Regions from separate parts of the Homo sapiens genome. Here region 1 is linked to region 2. Evidence: promoter capture Hi-C in human tissues and cell types (Jung and others, 2019). All regions are on one chromosome and are shown on one strand. Each heading gives the region's core, a stretch centred on a gene start or on the middle of the fragment in contact. The rest is flanking DNA. Distances are from core to core; before and after follow the strand shown.

The links. Contacts are between HindIII fragments. The study calls those that stand out against the background at their distance.
Region 1: a contact is called between the fragment with the promoter of AKR7A3 here and the fragment with the promoter of CAPZB in region 2, in 1 of the 25 tissues and cell types used here (ovary).

Annotation. Positions count from the first base shown.
Region 1 is chr1:19,285,558-19,292,357 of GRCh38, reverse strand. It overlaps AKR7A3 (aldo-keto reductase family 7 member A3), which reads left to right and starts at 3,588. Exons shown (of 7, transcript NM_012067.3): 1 at 3,588-3,862; 2 at 5,986-6,173; 3 at 6,366-6,470. The coding sequence starts at 3,649. It overlaps LOC124903867 (a long non-coding RNA gene), which reads right to left and starts at 4,298. Exons shown (of 3, transcript XR_007065521.1): 1 at 3,998-4,298. RefSeq lists enhancers at 2,711-3,532, 3,533-4,355. The HindIII fragment of the contact is 16,987 bases long and covers 1-6,800 here.
Region 2 is chr1:19,482,412-19,489,157 of GRCh38, reverse strand. CAPZB (capping actin protein of muscle Z-line subunit beta) reads left to right here and starts at 3,619. Exons shown (of 9, transcript NM_004930.5): 1 at 3,619-3,722. The coding sequence starts at 3,720. It also overlaps a transcript of LOC105376819 not described here. RefSeq lists enhancers at 1,276-1,783, 3,817-4,325, 4,326-4,833, 4,834-5,342 and silencers at 3,043-3,772, 3,803-3,912. The HindIII fragment of the contact is 6,884 bases long and covers 1-6,445 here.

The DNA.
Region 1 (6,800 bases), core at 2,339-4,838, 200 kb after region 2:
GTTTGTGTTTTTCAAGGAAATTGTCCATTTCATCTAACTTACTAAATGTATTCACATAAAGGTTTTAATAATCTACCCTATTGTCATTTAAAATGTCATTTAATGTCATTTAATGACATTTAAATATCACTTAAAATGATAAATTTGTATAATTTGTAGTGGTGTCTCTTCTGCTCTTTCTGGTGTGGTTAATCTGTGTATTCTCTCTTTTATTCCTGATCAGTCTAGCCAGAGGTTTATCAACTTTAGCGATGTGTTTATAGAACTACTTCTGGTTTTACTGACTTTTGCTGATGTTTTTGTTTTATATTTCATTTATTTTGGCTTTTTTTTTTCTTTGAGATGGAGTCTTGCTCTGTTTCCCAGGCTGGCGTGCAGAGGAGTGATCTTGGCTCACTGCAGCTTCTGCCTCCCGGGTTCAAACGATTCTCCCACATCAGCCTATTTTGGCTATTATTTTTATTATTTCCTTTCTTCTGCTAATTTTGGTTTTACTTGACTCTTCCTTTTGTGGTTTCTTAAAGTACAAGCCTCGGCCGGTGCAGTGGCTCACACCTGTAATCCCAGCACTTTGGGAGGCTGAGGCGAGAGGATCCCTTGAAGCCAGGAGTTCAAGACCAGCCTGGCAAACATGGTGAGACCCCTTCTCTACTAAAAATACAAAAATTAGCCGGGCATGGTGGTGCATGCCTGTAATTCCAACTACTCAGGAAACTGGGACATGAGAATTGATTGAACCCAGGAGGCTGAGGTTGCAGGGAGCTGAGATTGCACCACTGCTCTCCAGCCTGTGTGACAGAGTGAGACTGTGTCTCAAAAAAAAAAAAAAAAAAAAGTAAATGCTTACATTATTGATCTGAAATATTTCTTCTTTTGTAATATGTCAAAGTGGTGCTATAAATTTCCCTCATAGCACTACTGTGGCTGCATCTCAGAAAATTTGATATGTCCTGTTTTTACTTTCATTCAGTTCAAAATATGATCTAATTTTCCTTGTGATTACATATTTGACCCATGGGTTATTTAATTTCTAAATATGTGGGGATTTTCCAGATATCATTCCATTATTATTTTCTATTTTTCCTTTTTCTTCTATTTGTTAACTTATTTACTTATTTTCAGTTCCCTCTCAGGCTCTAAATTCTGTTATTCTTTTCTTTTCTTTTCTTTTTTTCTTTCTTTCTTTTTTTTTTTTTTTTGAGGTAGAGTCTTTCTCTGTCACCCAGGCTGGAGTGCAGTGGTGCGATCTTGGCTCACTGCAACCTCCGCCTCCCAGGTTTAAGCAATTCTCCTGCCTCAGCCTCCTGAGTAGCTGGGATTACAGGCACACACCACAATGCTCGGCTAATTTTTTTGTATTTTTAGTAGAGATGGGGTTTCACCATATTGGACAGGCTGGTCTTGAACTTCTGACCTCAAGTGATCTGCCCACCTTGGCCTCCCAAAGTGCTGGGATTAAAGGTGTGAGCCACCGCACCCAGCCTGTGTTATTATTTTCTAGTTTAATTCCATCGTGTTCAGAGATGTACTTTGTATGATTGGAATCCTTTCAAATTTATTTATTTATTTATTTATTTATTTTTAATATGGAGTCTCACTCTGTTGCCCAAGCTAGAGTGCAATGGCCTGATCTCGGCTTACTGCACTCTCCACCAACCAGGTTTAAGTGATTCTCCTGCCTCAGCCTCCTGAGTAGCTGAGATTACAGGGGCACGCCACCACGCCTAGCTAATTTTTGTATTTTTAGTGGAGACGGGGTTTCACTGTGTTGGCCAGGCTGGTCTCAAACTCCTGACCTCAGTTAATCCACATGCCTTGGCCTCCCAAAGTGCTGGGATTACAGGCGTGAACCACCGCTCCCAGCCTCTTTTACATTTATTAAGACTTGTTTTATGCCTCCAAATATGGTATATCTTGGTGGATGGGCACTTGAAAAGAATGCATATCCTGCTGTTGTTGGATATTCTATTCATGTTGTTTATGTGGAATTGGTTCATAGCATTGAGTCTTGTATACCTTTACGGAGTTTCCGTAAATTATGACTGATAACTGTTCTACAACTATTGAGAATGGTGTGTTGAAATCTCCAATTATAATTTTGTATTTATCTACTTGTTCTTTAGTTCCATTATTGTTTTTCATGTATTTTGATGATCTATGCTTAGGTGCATATATATTTAGAATTATATCTTCTTTATTAATTGACCTCTTTGTCATTATGGTATGTCCCTCTTTGTCTTTGGTAGTTGTTGTTGTTGTTGCTGTTTTGAGACAGGGTCTCAATCTGCAGCTTCGACCTCCCAGGCGTAGATGATTCTCCCACCTCTGCCTCCCAAGTAACTGGGACCACAGGTGCATGCTACCACAATTTGATAATTTTTAAAATTTTGTTGTAGCGATAAGATCTCCCTGTGTTGCCCAGGCTAGTCTCAAACTCCTGGACTTAAGCAATCCTCCCTTCTCAGGCTCCCAAAGTGCTAACATTACAGGTGTGGGCTAGTATGTCACCCACTGTGTGGGCCAGTATTCTTTGTTTTGCAATCTACTTTGTCTGATATTCACTTAGCCATTCCAACTTCTTAAAATTTAGTTTTGTCAGTGTATGTCTTTTCCCATCTTTTTGCTCTTAAACTATCTCTGCTTTTATATTTGAATAGCTTTCTGGTATTTACCATATAGTTTGGTTTTGCTTTTTTATCCATTCTAACAATCACTGCCTTTTACTTGTGAGCATTTACATCATTTATATTTATGTAATTATTGATATGATTGGGTTTAAATCAATTTTGCTATTGGTTTTTCATTTGTTCCATCTGTCTATTGGTCTTTTTTTTTCTTTTGTATTTGGAGACAGATTTGCCCTCTGTCACCCAGGGTGGAGTGCAGTAGAGCTATCACAGCTCACTGCCGCTGGGCACTGGTCCATTTTTCTATCTTTTTTTTTTTCTTTTGAGACAGGGCCTCCCTATGTTGCCCAGGCTGGGTTCAAACTCCTGGGCTCAAGTGATCCTCCTGCCTTGATCTCTCAAAGTGTTGGCATTACAGGCGTTAAGTCACCAGAGCCAGTCAGTTTTTTTTCACTTAGGTACAGAATTCAATGCCAACAGTTCTTTTCTTTCAACACTTTAACCATGTCACTCCATGGGGACGCTGTCTTGAGCCTTTGGTAAGCCTCATTCTCCAGGACCACACGGCAGGCGCGACAGCCCTAGGTCCACCCCACCCCGTAAGCGCTCCCTCCGGGAGGAGACAGAAACCCAGGACAGCTCCGGGGCAAGGCCGAGGAAGGAGGGACGACGGGGCAGGGAGGCCCGAAGAGTCCCCGCCTTTTGGGATAGTCGCCACCCTTGGACCCCCTCACCCTTGGGGACGTTGAGGAGTGTTAAAATCTCCAAGACGCGAGTCACCGGTACGAAGCCACAGCCATTTCGCTGCTTGCTCGGTGCAAGTGCAGAAGGTCCTAGTAGCCGAGCGTGGAGTCGAGCTCGTGGGCGGCGTCGGGCACCTTCGGCCGCGCCCTCAGCTGCACCCGCCGGTGGGCGGGGCCCGAGCCCGTCTCTAAAGCCACGAGGCCGCCCGCTCCGAGCCTGGTGCTTCCGACCGCTGCGCGCGGCTCCTGGGCTGTCACAGTCTCCCGTTGCCGCCGTCATGTCCCGGCAGCTGTCGCGGGCCCGGCCAGCCACGGTGCTGGGCGCCATGGAGATGGGGCGCCGCATGGACGCGCCCACCAGCGCCGCAGTCACGCGCGCCTTCCTGGAGCGCGGCCACACCGAGATAGACACGGCCTTCGTGTACAGCGAGGGCCAGTCCGAGACCATCCTTGGCGGCCTGGGGCTCCGGCTGGGCGGCAGCGACTGCAGAGGTAACAGTGGCCCCTGATCCTCCCCCTGCACGGTGCAGAGCTGAGCCTGTCCACAGCCGTGTACCGCCCCGCTCTCCCTGGCCCCGGGGCAGCACCCAAAGTTTTGTCCCCCCCACCGCCCCCACCCCTGTTCACCTCGCAGCCTTGGGAACACCAGGCTCCTTAGGCACGTCTAGCTCCGGACAACTTTTCTCTCGTCTTCTCTTCTGTTCGTCTCTCTTCTCTTCCGGGAGGTAGCCAGCACCCTCACTGACGCCTGGATGACTTGGTCTTGCCTGGAATGACTTGGCTAGCCCCTCTCTGGAGCACAAAAAACACTGGGATCTGGCATTGTGCAGCTCCTGTCCCCACCTGTGCCCTCCAGGTGCCCTTGACGGGCCTGATCTGCAGAAATTCTGTTCTTACCGCCTGGCACTCCCTGGCACAGTCCAAAATCAGAGTTTGGACCCAGCACACTATCTGCTTCCTCCTTTGCACATGCCAGCCTGCTCGGGGCCCCGGACTTTGCTCTGAGTACCTTGTGGTACTCACAAGGGCACCTCACAAGGGTGGCAGTGCCCGGAAGCCTTGGCAGCTCCCTCAGGGGGATGAGGGATTGGGGTGGTACAGAGTCTCACTGCCCTCTCTGTGGGAGGCTCTGTCGGAGGCTATTGGAGAGAAATGGACACTAACCCACTCCAGGAAGCTCCAGTTCTAGAGATGGCTGGGGAGCCCAGAGTGACCCCTTCCTGGGAGGGACCCCGTGAAGAAAGAATGGATAGGAGTTTGCCAGGAAGAGTACAAGGGGCAAGGGCGTCAGGGCAGTGGGCATGGGTGTGGAAAGGCAAATGTGTTTTGGCAATGCCGCGGGTGCTGGAGGAGGCAGGTGTGGCCGGAGGGGAGGATGTGTGTATAGGGGCAGGAGGAGCCGCCCTCAGTCTGATGCCATTTGCAGTGCTTAGGCCGATGCCTGGCAGGCACATAGTGAGGGCTGGGAAATGTTAGCTGTTTGTTTGTTCTTAGTATTAGCACCATTTGCCTCCTTCCACTGAGTGTCTGAGTGGAGTCTTATTTCTCCTCTGATTCACCACATGGTAGATCCAGAACGAACCTGGCCTGTGCGTGCATCCCAGTGCCACGCTCTTTCTAGATCACCCGGCTGCCACTCAGTGAGAGCTCTAACCATATTTCTGATTTTTTTTTTTTTTTTGAGACAGGGTCTTGCTTTTTTGCCCAGGCTGGAGTGGAGTGGTGCGATAGGGCTCATTGCAGCTTTGACCTCTCAGGGCTCAAGCCATCCTCCCACCTCAGTCTCCTGAGTAGCTGGGACTACTACAGTAGCACCACACCCGGCTAATTTTTTGTATTATTCATTGAAACTGGAGTCTCACTTTGTTGCCCAGGCTGGTCTTAAACCCCTGAGCTCAAGTGATCCTCCTGCTCTGGCCTCCCAAAGTGCTGAGATTACAGGTGTGAGCCACCACAGATCTGTACCCTCTGCCTGGCCCTTATTTCTGATTTTTTTTTCTTTCCTTTTTTAATCCTTCTTTGTCTTCTGTCTGAGTCCAAGGTTGGCTGGCGAAAGTCCTCAGATCTGATCTGAAGTTAAATTCAATTGAGAAGCAGAGGGGTGGTGGTGGAATGGAAAAATTCCATATGAATAGTTCCTCAAACCTGCTCTTTGCTAGGCCTCAAGGGCTCCAGTGACTGCCCTCCTGCCAGCCTAGGTGACTTTCTAAGTGTGAAAAGTGGGAAGAGGACTCTCCACTCACCTGTTAGTCCAGTTCACTAGGAACTAAGATTCTTTTTTTTTGTTGTTTGTTTTGTTTGTTTGTTTGTTTTTTGAGAAGTCTCACTCTGTGAGACATTGTGCTGTGGCACAATCTCGGCTCACTGCAACCTCCGCCTCCCGGGTTCAAGCAATTCTCCTGCCTCAGACTCCGGACTAGCTGGGGACTACAGGCGGGCTCCACTATGCCCAGCTAATTTTTGTGTTTTTATTAGAGATGGGGTTTCACCATGTTGGTCCAGCTGGTCTTGAACTCCTGACCTTCTGATTTGCCTGCCTCAGTCTCCCAAAGTGCTGGGATTACAGGCATGAGCCACGGCGCCTGGCCCTGAATTTCATTTCTCTTTCCTCTCAGTGAAAATTGATACCAAGGCCATTCCACTGTTTGGGAACTCCCTGAAGCCTGACAGTCTCCGGTTCCAGCTGGAGACGTCACTGAAGCGGCTGCAGTGTCCCCGAGTGGACCTCTTCTACCTGCATATGCCAGACCACAGCACCCCGGTGGAAGAGACACTGCGTGCCTGCCACCAGCTGCACCAGGAGGTGAGGGGACCCCTGAGCTCTGGGAGGTGGTCCACTGCTGCTCTCCTTATCCTGATCCTAATGGTGAGAGCAGAGGCACCAGGGCTGTTCCAGGGTGGAGCAGGGAACAGCCCAACTCCCAGGGGCCCCACCCTGGCCTCCCTTTCCTGGTCTGGGCTGCACTATGTTCTGACTGGAGCCTCACCTGAGCAGGGCAAGTTCGTGGAGCTTGGCCTCTCCAACTATGCAGCCTGGGAAGTGGCCGAGATCTGTACCCTCTGCAAGAGCAACGGCTGGATCCTGCCCACTGTGTACCAGGTGAGAGCCAGGGCTGCAGAGGCCAAGGTCTCCAGAACTCCTGCTCATCCTGGGCTGTCTTTGCCCCTCTGACTGCCCCCTGTGCCCTCTGCATAGCAGCCACTCCCCTGCTGAAAGCCTGCAGATGGCTCCCAGGTACCCTCAGGATGCCATTCAAGCTCCTCAGGCTGGCCACTGGGCATCTGCTTCCTTCCTGCCTATCTGTGCACCTTGGACCCTTCCTTCCCTACCTTCCCCTGCACTCAGCCTGGAACAAGCCCTTCCCCCACCACCGCCCCTTCCGTGAGAGAATGGTTCAGGTCTCACATACGTGTCTCTTCCTCTGGAAGC
Region 2 (6,746 bases), core at 2,370-4,869:
AGACGGAGGCTGCAGTGAGCCGAGATCGCACCACTGCACTCCAGCCTGGGCGACAGAGTGAGACTCCATCTCAAAAACAAAAACAAAAAAATCTCCAATAGGCATCTCAAACATAACTTGCTCCCTCTTATCCACAACCCTCTCCTCAGAAAAACCCTGCTCCTCCTACAGTCTTCCCCAGATCAATAAATGGTAAATCCTTCCAGTGTTAAGCCAAAAACCTTAGCATCAGGCAAAACTATGGAGTAAAAAGATCAGTGGTTGCCAGGAGCTGGGGGAAAGGGGATGAAGAGGTGGAACACGGGGGATTTTTAGGGCAGTGAAAATATTCCGTATGATGGTTCTAACGGTGGCTAGATGTAATTATCCACTTCTCCAAGCCCATAGATTGTATAAGTGAACCCTAATGTAAACTATTGGGTGATCACGATGTATGAATGCAGGTTATTTGCAACAGATGTACCACACTAGTGGGGAATGGGGACAATTCAGGGAGGCTCTGCATATGTGGGGCAGGGGGGTATATATGGATTGTCTCTGTACCTTCCTCTCAATTTTCTTGTGAAACTAAAACTGCTCTAAAAAACAAAGTCTTGGCCGGGTGCAGTGGCTCATGCCTGTAATCCCAGCACTTTAGGAGGCTGAGGTGGGAGGATTGCTTAAGCCCAGGAGTTCGAGACCAGCCTGGGTAATACAGTGCGACTCAGTCTCTACAAAAAAATTAGCCTGGCACGGTGATGCACGCCTGTAGTCCCAGCTACTCAGGGCGGGGGTGGGGAGGGGCTGAGGTGGGAGGATCACTTGAGTCCGGGGGTGTTGAGGCTGCAGTGAGCTATGATTGCGCCACTGCACTCCAGTCTGGGCAACAGAACTGAGACACTGTCTCAAAACAAAAAACAACAGAAGACAAAGTCTTTAAATATGAAAAAAAAAATCTTAGCATCATCCTTGATTCCTTTCTTCTCATGCCTACCACCAATACATCAGGAAATACCTAGAATACTATCTACTTCTTGCCATCTCCAATGCTACTACCCTGGTCTAAGCCAGCTTCATCTCTCTGCTGTGTGACCTTGGGCAAGCTCCTTACCTTTTCAGGCTTCTGTCATGAGGATTAAATGGCTTATTATCTGTAAGGTGCTTAACAGTGTTCATCACATAGGATGTGCCATATCAGTGCTTTTTAAATAAATAAATGTCCTCAATATAGAAATGGCTTTCTAAGGCCCTAGTCCCCCTACAGTCCATTCAGAACACAGCAGCCTCATGATCCTTTTAAAGCCTAGGTCAAATCTTGTCATTGCCCTGTCCTTCAGCTCCTGCTCGACCTAGGCTAGCCACACTGGCCTCCTGTCTGGCCCTTGAAAACACACCAGTGCTGATGCAGCACTGTCACCTTCAGGGTTTTTACCCTTGCTGCTCCTTGTGCCTCTGCTATCCACACGGCTTGCTCCCTCCTTCCCTTCAGCTATATGATCAAATATTGCTAAGTTAGGCCTTGCCTGCCTACCTGTTTGCTTGAATTTTTCTCATTATCTCTAATCACTACCCGACACTGTATTATTATTATTACTATTTTATTTTTGAGACGAAGTCTCTCTCTGTCGCCCAGGCTGGAGTGCAGTGGCGCGATCTCGGCTCACTGCAAGCTCCGCCTCCCGGGTTCACGCCATTCTCCTGCCTCAGCCTCCCGAGTAGCTGGGACTACAGGCGCCCGTCATCCCGCCCAGCTAATTTTTTTATTTTTAGTAGAGACGGAGTTTCACCGTGTTAGCCAAGATGGTCTCGATCTCCTGACCCCGTGATCCGCCCACCTCGGCCTCCCAAAGTGCTAGGATTACAGGCGTGAGCCACTGCGCCCGGCCTCGGCTAACTTTGTGTATTTTTAGTAGACGGGGTTTCGCCATGTTAGCCAGGCTGATCTGGAACTCCTGACTTCAAGCGATTGCCCACCTCGGCCTCCCAAAGTGCTGAGATTACAGGCGTGAGCCACTGTGCCTGGCCTTGGACACTGTATTTGCCTGGTGGCCGACTGTCTCCCTGACAACACTCAAGCTCCACAACCATGTGGGTTATTTTGCTCATTGCTCTATTTCCAGAGCCTAGCACAGTGCTTGGCACATAGCAGATGCTCAATAAGTATCTACTGCGTGTGCCATTCTCTTCCTTGAATTTCTGTAATACTCATCCAATACCATTCTTGCGAGACTTACCCGTATGCTTTTTCTGCCAGTGGCTACCTGTGAAAGCTTCGACTTGTCTATGAGCTCCCTGAGGACAGGGCCTGGCTCAGGGAAACAATTCCTGTCATCTGTGCAGTTTACCATCCCCTCACAGATCGCCTAATTTGATTTAACCAAAGCAAACAGGCCACGGAGGCAGATATTGTTAGCAATCCAGATCTCTCCTGCTACCTAGACTAAGCTTAACAAATATTTGATTGAGAGAGAGAGAGAGAGATTGGGAGAGAGAAACTTGAGTCACTTTGTGGAGCGAGGAAGCCCTTCTGGGCTAATGGAATGGTTCTCTGTAGCACATTCAACAGTACTCATAACAGCTAGCATTTGTTGAACTTAATTTTTTTTCTTTTGAGACAGAGTCTTGCTCTGTCGCCAGGCTGGGGTGCAGTGGCGCGATCTTGGCTCACTGCAACCTCTGCCCCCGGGTTCAAACGATTCTCCTGCCTCAGCCTCCCGAGTAGCTGGGACTATAGGAGCGAACCACCACGCCCAGCTAATTTTTGTATTTTTAGTAGAAACGGGGTTTCACCATGTTGGCCAGGATGGTCTCGATCTCTTGACCTTGGCCCGCCTCGGCCTTCCAAAGTGCTGGGATTACAGGCGTGAGCCACCGCGGCCGACCTGTTGAACTTAATTTTCTAATCTCTACCTGTGTCATCCTCACAGATATTCTGTCTGCAGCTATACCGGCAGGGATCTTTATGTCTTATCTGTTATCTTCCGGTGCCTAAACAAGGCCTGGCACATAGTAGGTGCTGAATAAATGGCGTCAGCCCGAGGCTCCTCAATTCGTGCCCGGGCTCAGGTGCAGCGCGGCGCTCCAGATCCTGCCGTAGCGAGCGGCAGCGCTGGGCTCCTGCCCCGCTCCCGGCGCGCTCCCCCAGTGCTGGGTTGGGCTGGGTTGGGCTGGGCCGGGCCGGTCCGCGCTCGGCGGCAGTTCCGGGTGCGCCGCAGGAGTGAGCGCGTGCACGGGGTGGGGCGCGGAGGGCCGGTCCCCTCCCAGCCGCGGTGCCTTCCGCATCCCCGCCCGCGGGGACTGTGGGGTGCGGTTCCCTCGCCGCCACTCGCTGCTGCAGGCCCAGAGTCGGGGACTGGACCTCAGACAGCCAGGAGACCTTTCCGCCCCGGCCCGCAACCCGTGCCGGGGACTCCCGGCAGCCGCGCCGCGCAGCGCCGCGCCCCGCCCCGCCTCGCAGGCCCCGCCCCCGCACCCCGTCGGCGCCCGCCTCTCGCGCCGCTCTCCATACTTGGCGATCGCCGCAGCCCCGCGCGCTCATTGGCCGCGAGCTGGCGGCGTGGGGGGCGGGCCCGGGCCGGGCCGGGGCGGGGAAGGAAGGTGGCGGCGGCCCGGCGCGGGGGGAGGGGGGTGCTGACCCGGATGTTCACTCCTGGGCACCCGGGGAAGTGGAAGCGCCGGGCCCTGCTGCGGGGGGGAGAGCCACTGACGCCGGGACCGGGACCGCCGCCGCCGCCGCCACCATGGTAAAGGCCGCACGGCCCCCTCCCCGGCCCGGGGGCCCCTCCGGAGCTCGCGTCCCCCTCCCCCTGCCCATCCCTGGCCTGGGACGGGTGGCTTCCCGGGGTGGGGGAGGGGCGGGGTCCCGGACCCTGGGTGGACCCGGTCCCTCCCCGCCCAGGAGGGTGCCGCCGGCGCGGACGACTTGGGTGGCAGTGACCCTGCCCCCGCTCCCAGCCCCCGCCCTTGGCGCAAGCTGGAGTCCCACTCACTACCTCTGTGTTCAGGCTGGTCTCTCCCATAGCCCAGGCTAGACCCTCCCTCCCGAACCGTGTCCCCAGCCAGGCACCCCCTCGGTGACCCTGGCGTGGGCCCCCTTCCTCCCCCGGTCTAGGGCTAGGTCTGCTTTCCCCCGTCTCTCCGGCCCAGGCTAGGCCGTCGTTTCTCCCTGCCATGGCCCAGGCTAGGCCGCTGCCTCCCTCTGTCCCTCCCCCTTTGCCTTCTCCATGGCCTCAGGCTGGACCCCGGTCAGCCCCTTCTGCAGCGGCCTAGGTTTGCTTCCCCTCTTCTCCGTGGCCTCAGCCTGAATCTCCTCTTCTCTCTGTGAACTTAAATCTGGACCTCCTCTTCTCCGCCCATGGCCCCCGTCTGGACCTCACTGCCCCCTCCCCACCATGATCCCCTTCCCTGGACTTTTCGCCACTCCTAGCGTAACCTGCGTCAGCCCCGCTCGGTCCCCGCCCTGAGCCTCTCATCAGGGTCCTGCCCCCTGCCTGGTGCACGACCCAGGGTCCCCTTCCCTGTACCTGGGGCGCGCCTTCTTTGCAGCCTTTGGGGAGCGAGGGGAGCTCTCCATCAGGGATGGGGTGGTCCCGGTGCTGTGCCTTCTCAGTTGCCGCTTCTAGGGAGGCCGCCTAGGAGCCAGCGAGGGAAGGGCGGGCATCGGTGTGCCCAGAAGGCAGCGCGCTGCTCTGCGGGCCCTTCTCGAGGCTGCCGCCGTGGGTGCTGTGCGTGCGAAGCATTCTGCAGGGCAGGCCGGGGTCCACGGCGCCCGGGCCTGAGTGGGAGCCGAGGGGCGAGGATGGGTGGCCCACAGGACAAGGATGAACGCACAATCGCCCTTGTGAGGCCGTGGCCTTGGGGGGCCACCAGGCCCTGGATCCAGCATATGGCCTGGACACGATGCACCCAAGCAGGCGCAGCCTCCCCTTCCCTCTGAACTGTCAGCTTGCAAGGGTTGGAACTGCTGATTATGGAAGTCCCTCGGATCAGGTGAGCAGAACGCCTAGGGAGAGTGCTGGCTCCGCTCGTGGTGTTTGTTTTGGTAAAGAAGGCAGATGCTATCCAGACTTTTGAGGAACCTGGGGTTTCACATAGGCCCCCACAGATAGACCTGCCCTCCTGCCACTTGACCCTTCTGCAGGACAGGCCCAGCACTTAGGTTGGAAGGGCCAGAGAACTTCTTCCTGACAGGATCAAGGGATTTTTGGAGCATGTTTGTATGTGGACTTTGGGCCTCAAAGTGTTTTGAGGACCATGGTTCCTTGTTTAGTCAAGGGATGTTGCTGCTGAACGAGGGTGAGTAGTTGAGATGGGTTAAGCTTTCTTTTGATGCCTTCCTGTATGCTGATTAAAAACATGGGCAATGCCACTTTTAAGGCCTTCGGATTTGTCCAGTAACTTTGGCTGAAAACTCCTTGTTTGGGGAGGTGGGCCTGGCCCCAGGCCTTGATGGAGAACGACTTCTCCAGGGCAGTGGTGGGTGAGGACTTTGAAAGTGGGCTGAAGTTTCCTGAGTGTGCACTCAGGACAAAGTATAAGGCAGGAAGCAGCGATTCTCGCCAGGTGATGGGAAAGTGCCTCAGTCCCCCAGGAGGAGCACATGACACCTGAAGCTTCTCAGGAGTCTTGTACTCAGCTCTCATCTGAAAAGGCTGGAAAGGGTGGAGGAACTGTCTGCCAGTCACTGTGGTGTGCTTCACCTGTACAAGCTGTTTTCATCCACAGGAAGCCCTTCTGGGGCTGTCCCCATTTTATAGATGAGGCAGCTGAGGCTCAGGAGGTGGAGTGACTTATTCAGGGTGTTGCTCAGCCAGTGGAGGAACCACTGTTGGTCAGTGGAAGCCCATCTGGCAGGCTCTAAACTGTTCTTCCCATTGTACCAAGCTGCTTGTATGTCAGAAGGTTTAATGATACCGTTTGAAAAACATAAAATGGGATATTCAAACATGGCAAGGGGGGAGGAGCAGTATTTATTGCCCATGTATTGTATTTTAGATCCTTTGTATAGGAAATCATGTTTATAGTGAAATAGCTGTATGGTGATACAGGCATATTTAGCATGGGCCAGAATGAGCTCTTGGAGGGCAGAGATTTGTGTCTTGTGTTTTCCGCAGCTGTATCCGTGGGGCCTAGAACAGCACCTGGCGTTGGAAGAAACCACTTGGAATGTTCTCTTTGGCATGTGTCTGTGTCCATGAACTTACCTGCTTGGATTTCATATTCATTCTCTCAGTCACTTGTTCTTAGTATCCCTTAGCCTTGTAATTTCTGACTGCTTATTGTTACGTTTATCCCCTATTTGAATACTCTGACCATTAAGCCGGTGTAGATGGTTGGCGTAGGACAGAAGTGGTGGTGTGAGGTTGCATTGTAGGTAAATGAATTCAGATCACCATGTTTTTCATTTTCAGTAGATTTGATGGTAGAGAATACAGCTAGATCTCTGTTATCCATTGAGGGAAATAGTGACTTGAGAATCTAAAATGCATTTGACTTTGGAATGAATTCCATGATTTTTGTTGGCATGAGTTTCTCCTTCCCAGTTAAAATGCATAGGCAAATGGAATTTATTTGCATTCCCTTAGCAGGTAATAATCTTACCACTGTCTGAGTGCTGTACAATTTCAGAGCACCGTTCCTTACACAGCTTCAGTTTCTGACTTGGGAATTATTCTTAGTTATGATGATGGTGAGGCTTTAGCAGGAACGGGGACTAGGGAGGCCCCCTCAGGAATTGCTGCTCCAGCTCACAGATGGTTTTGCCTGGC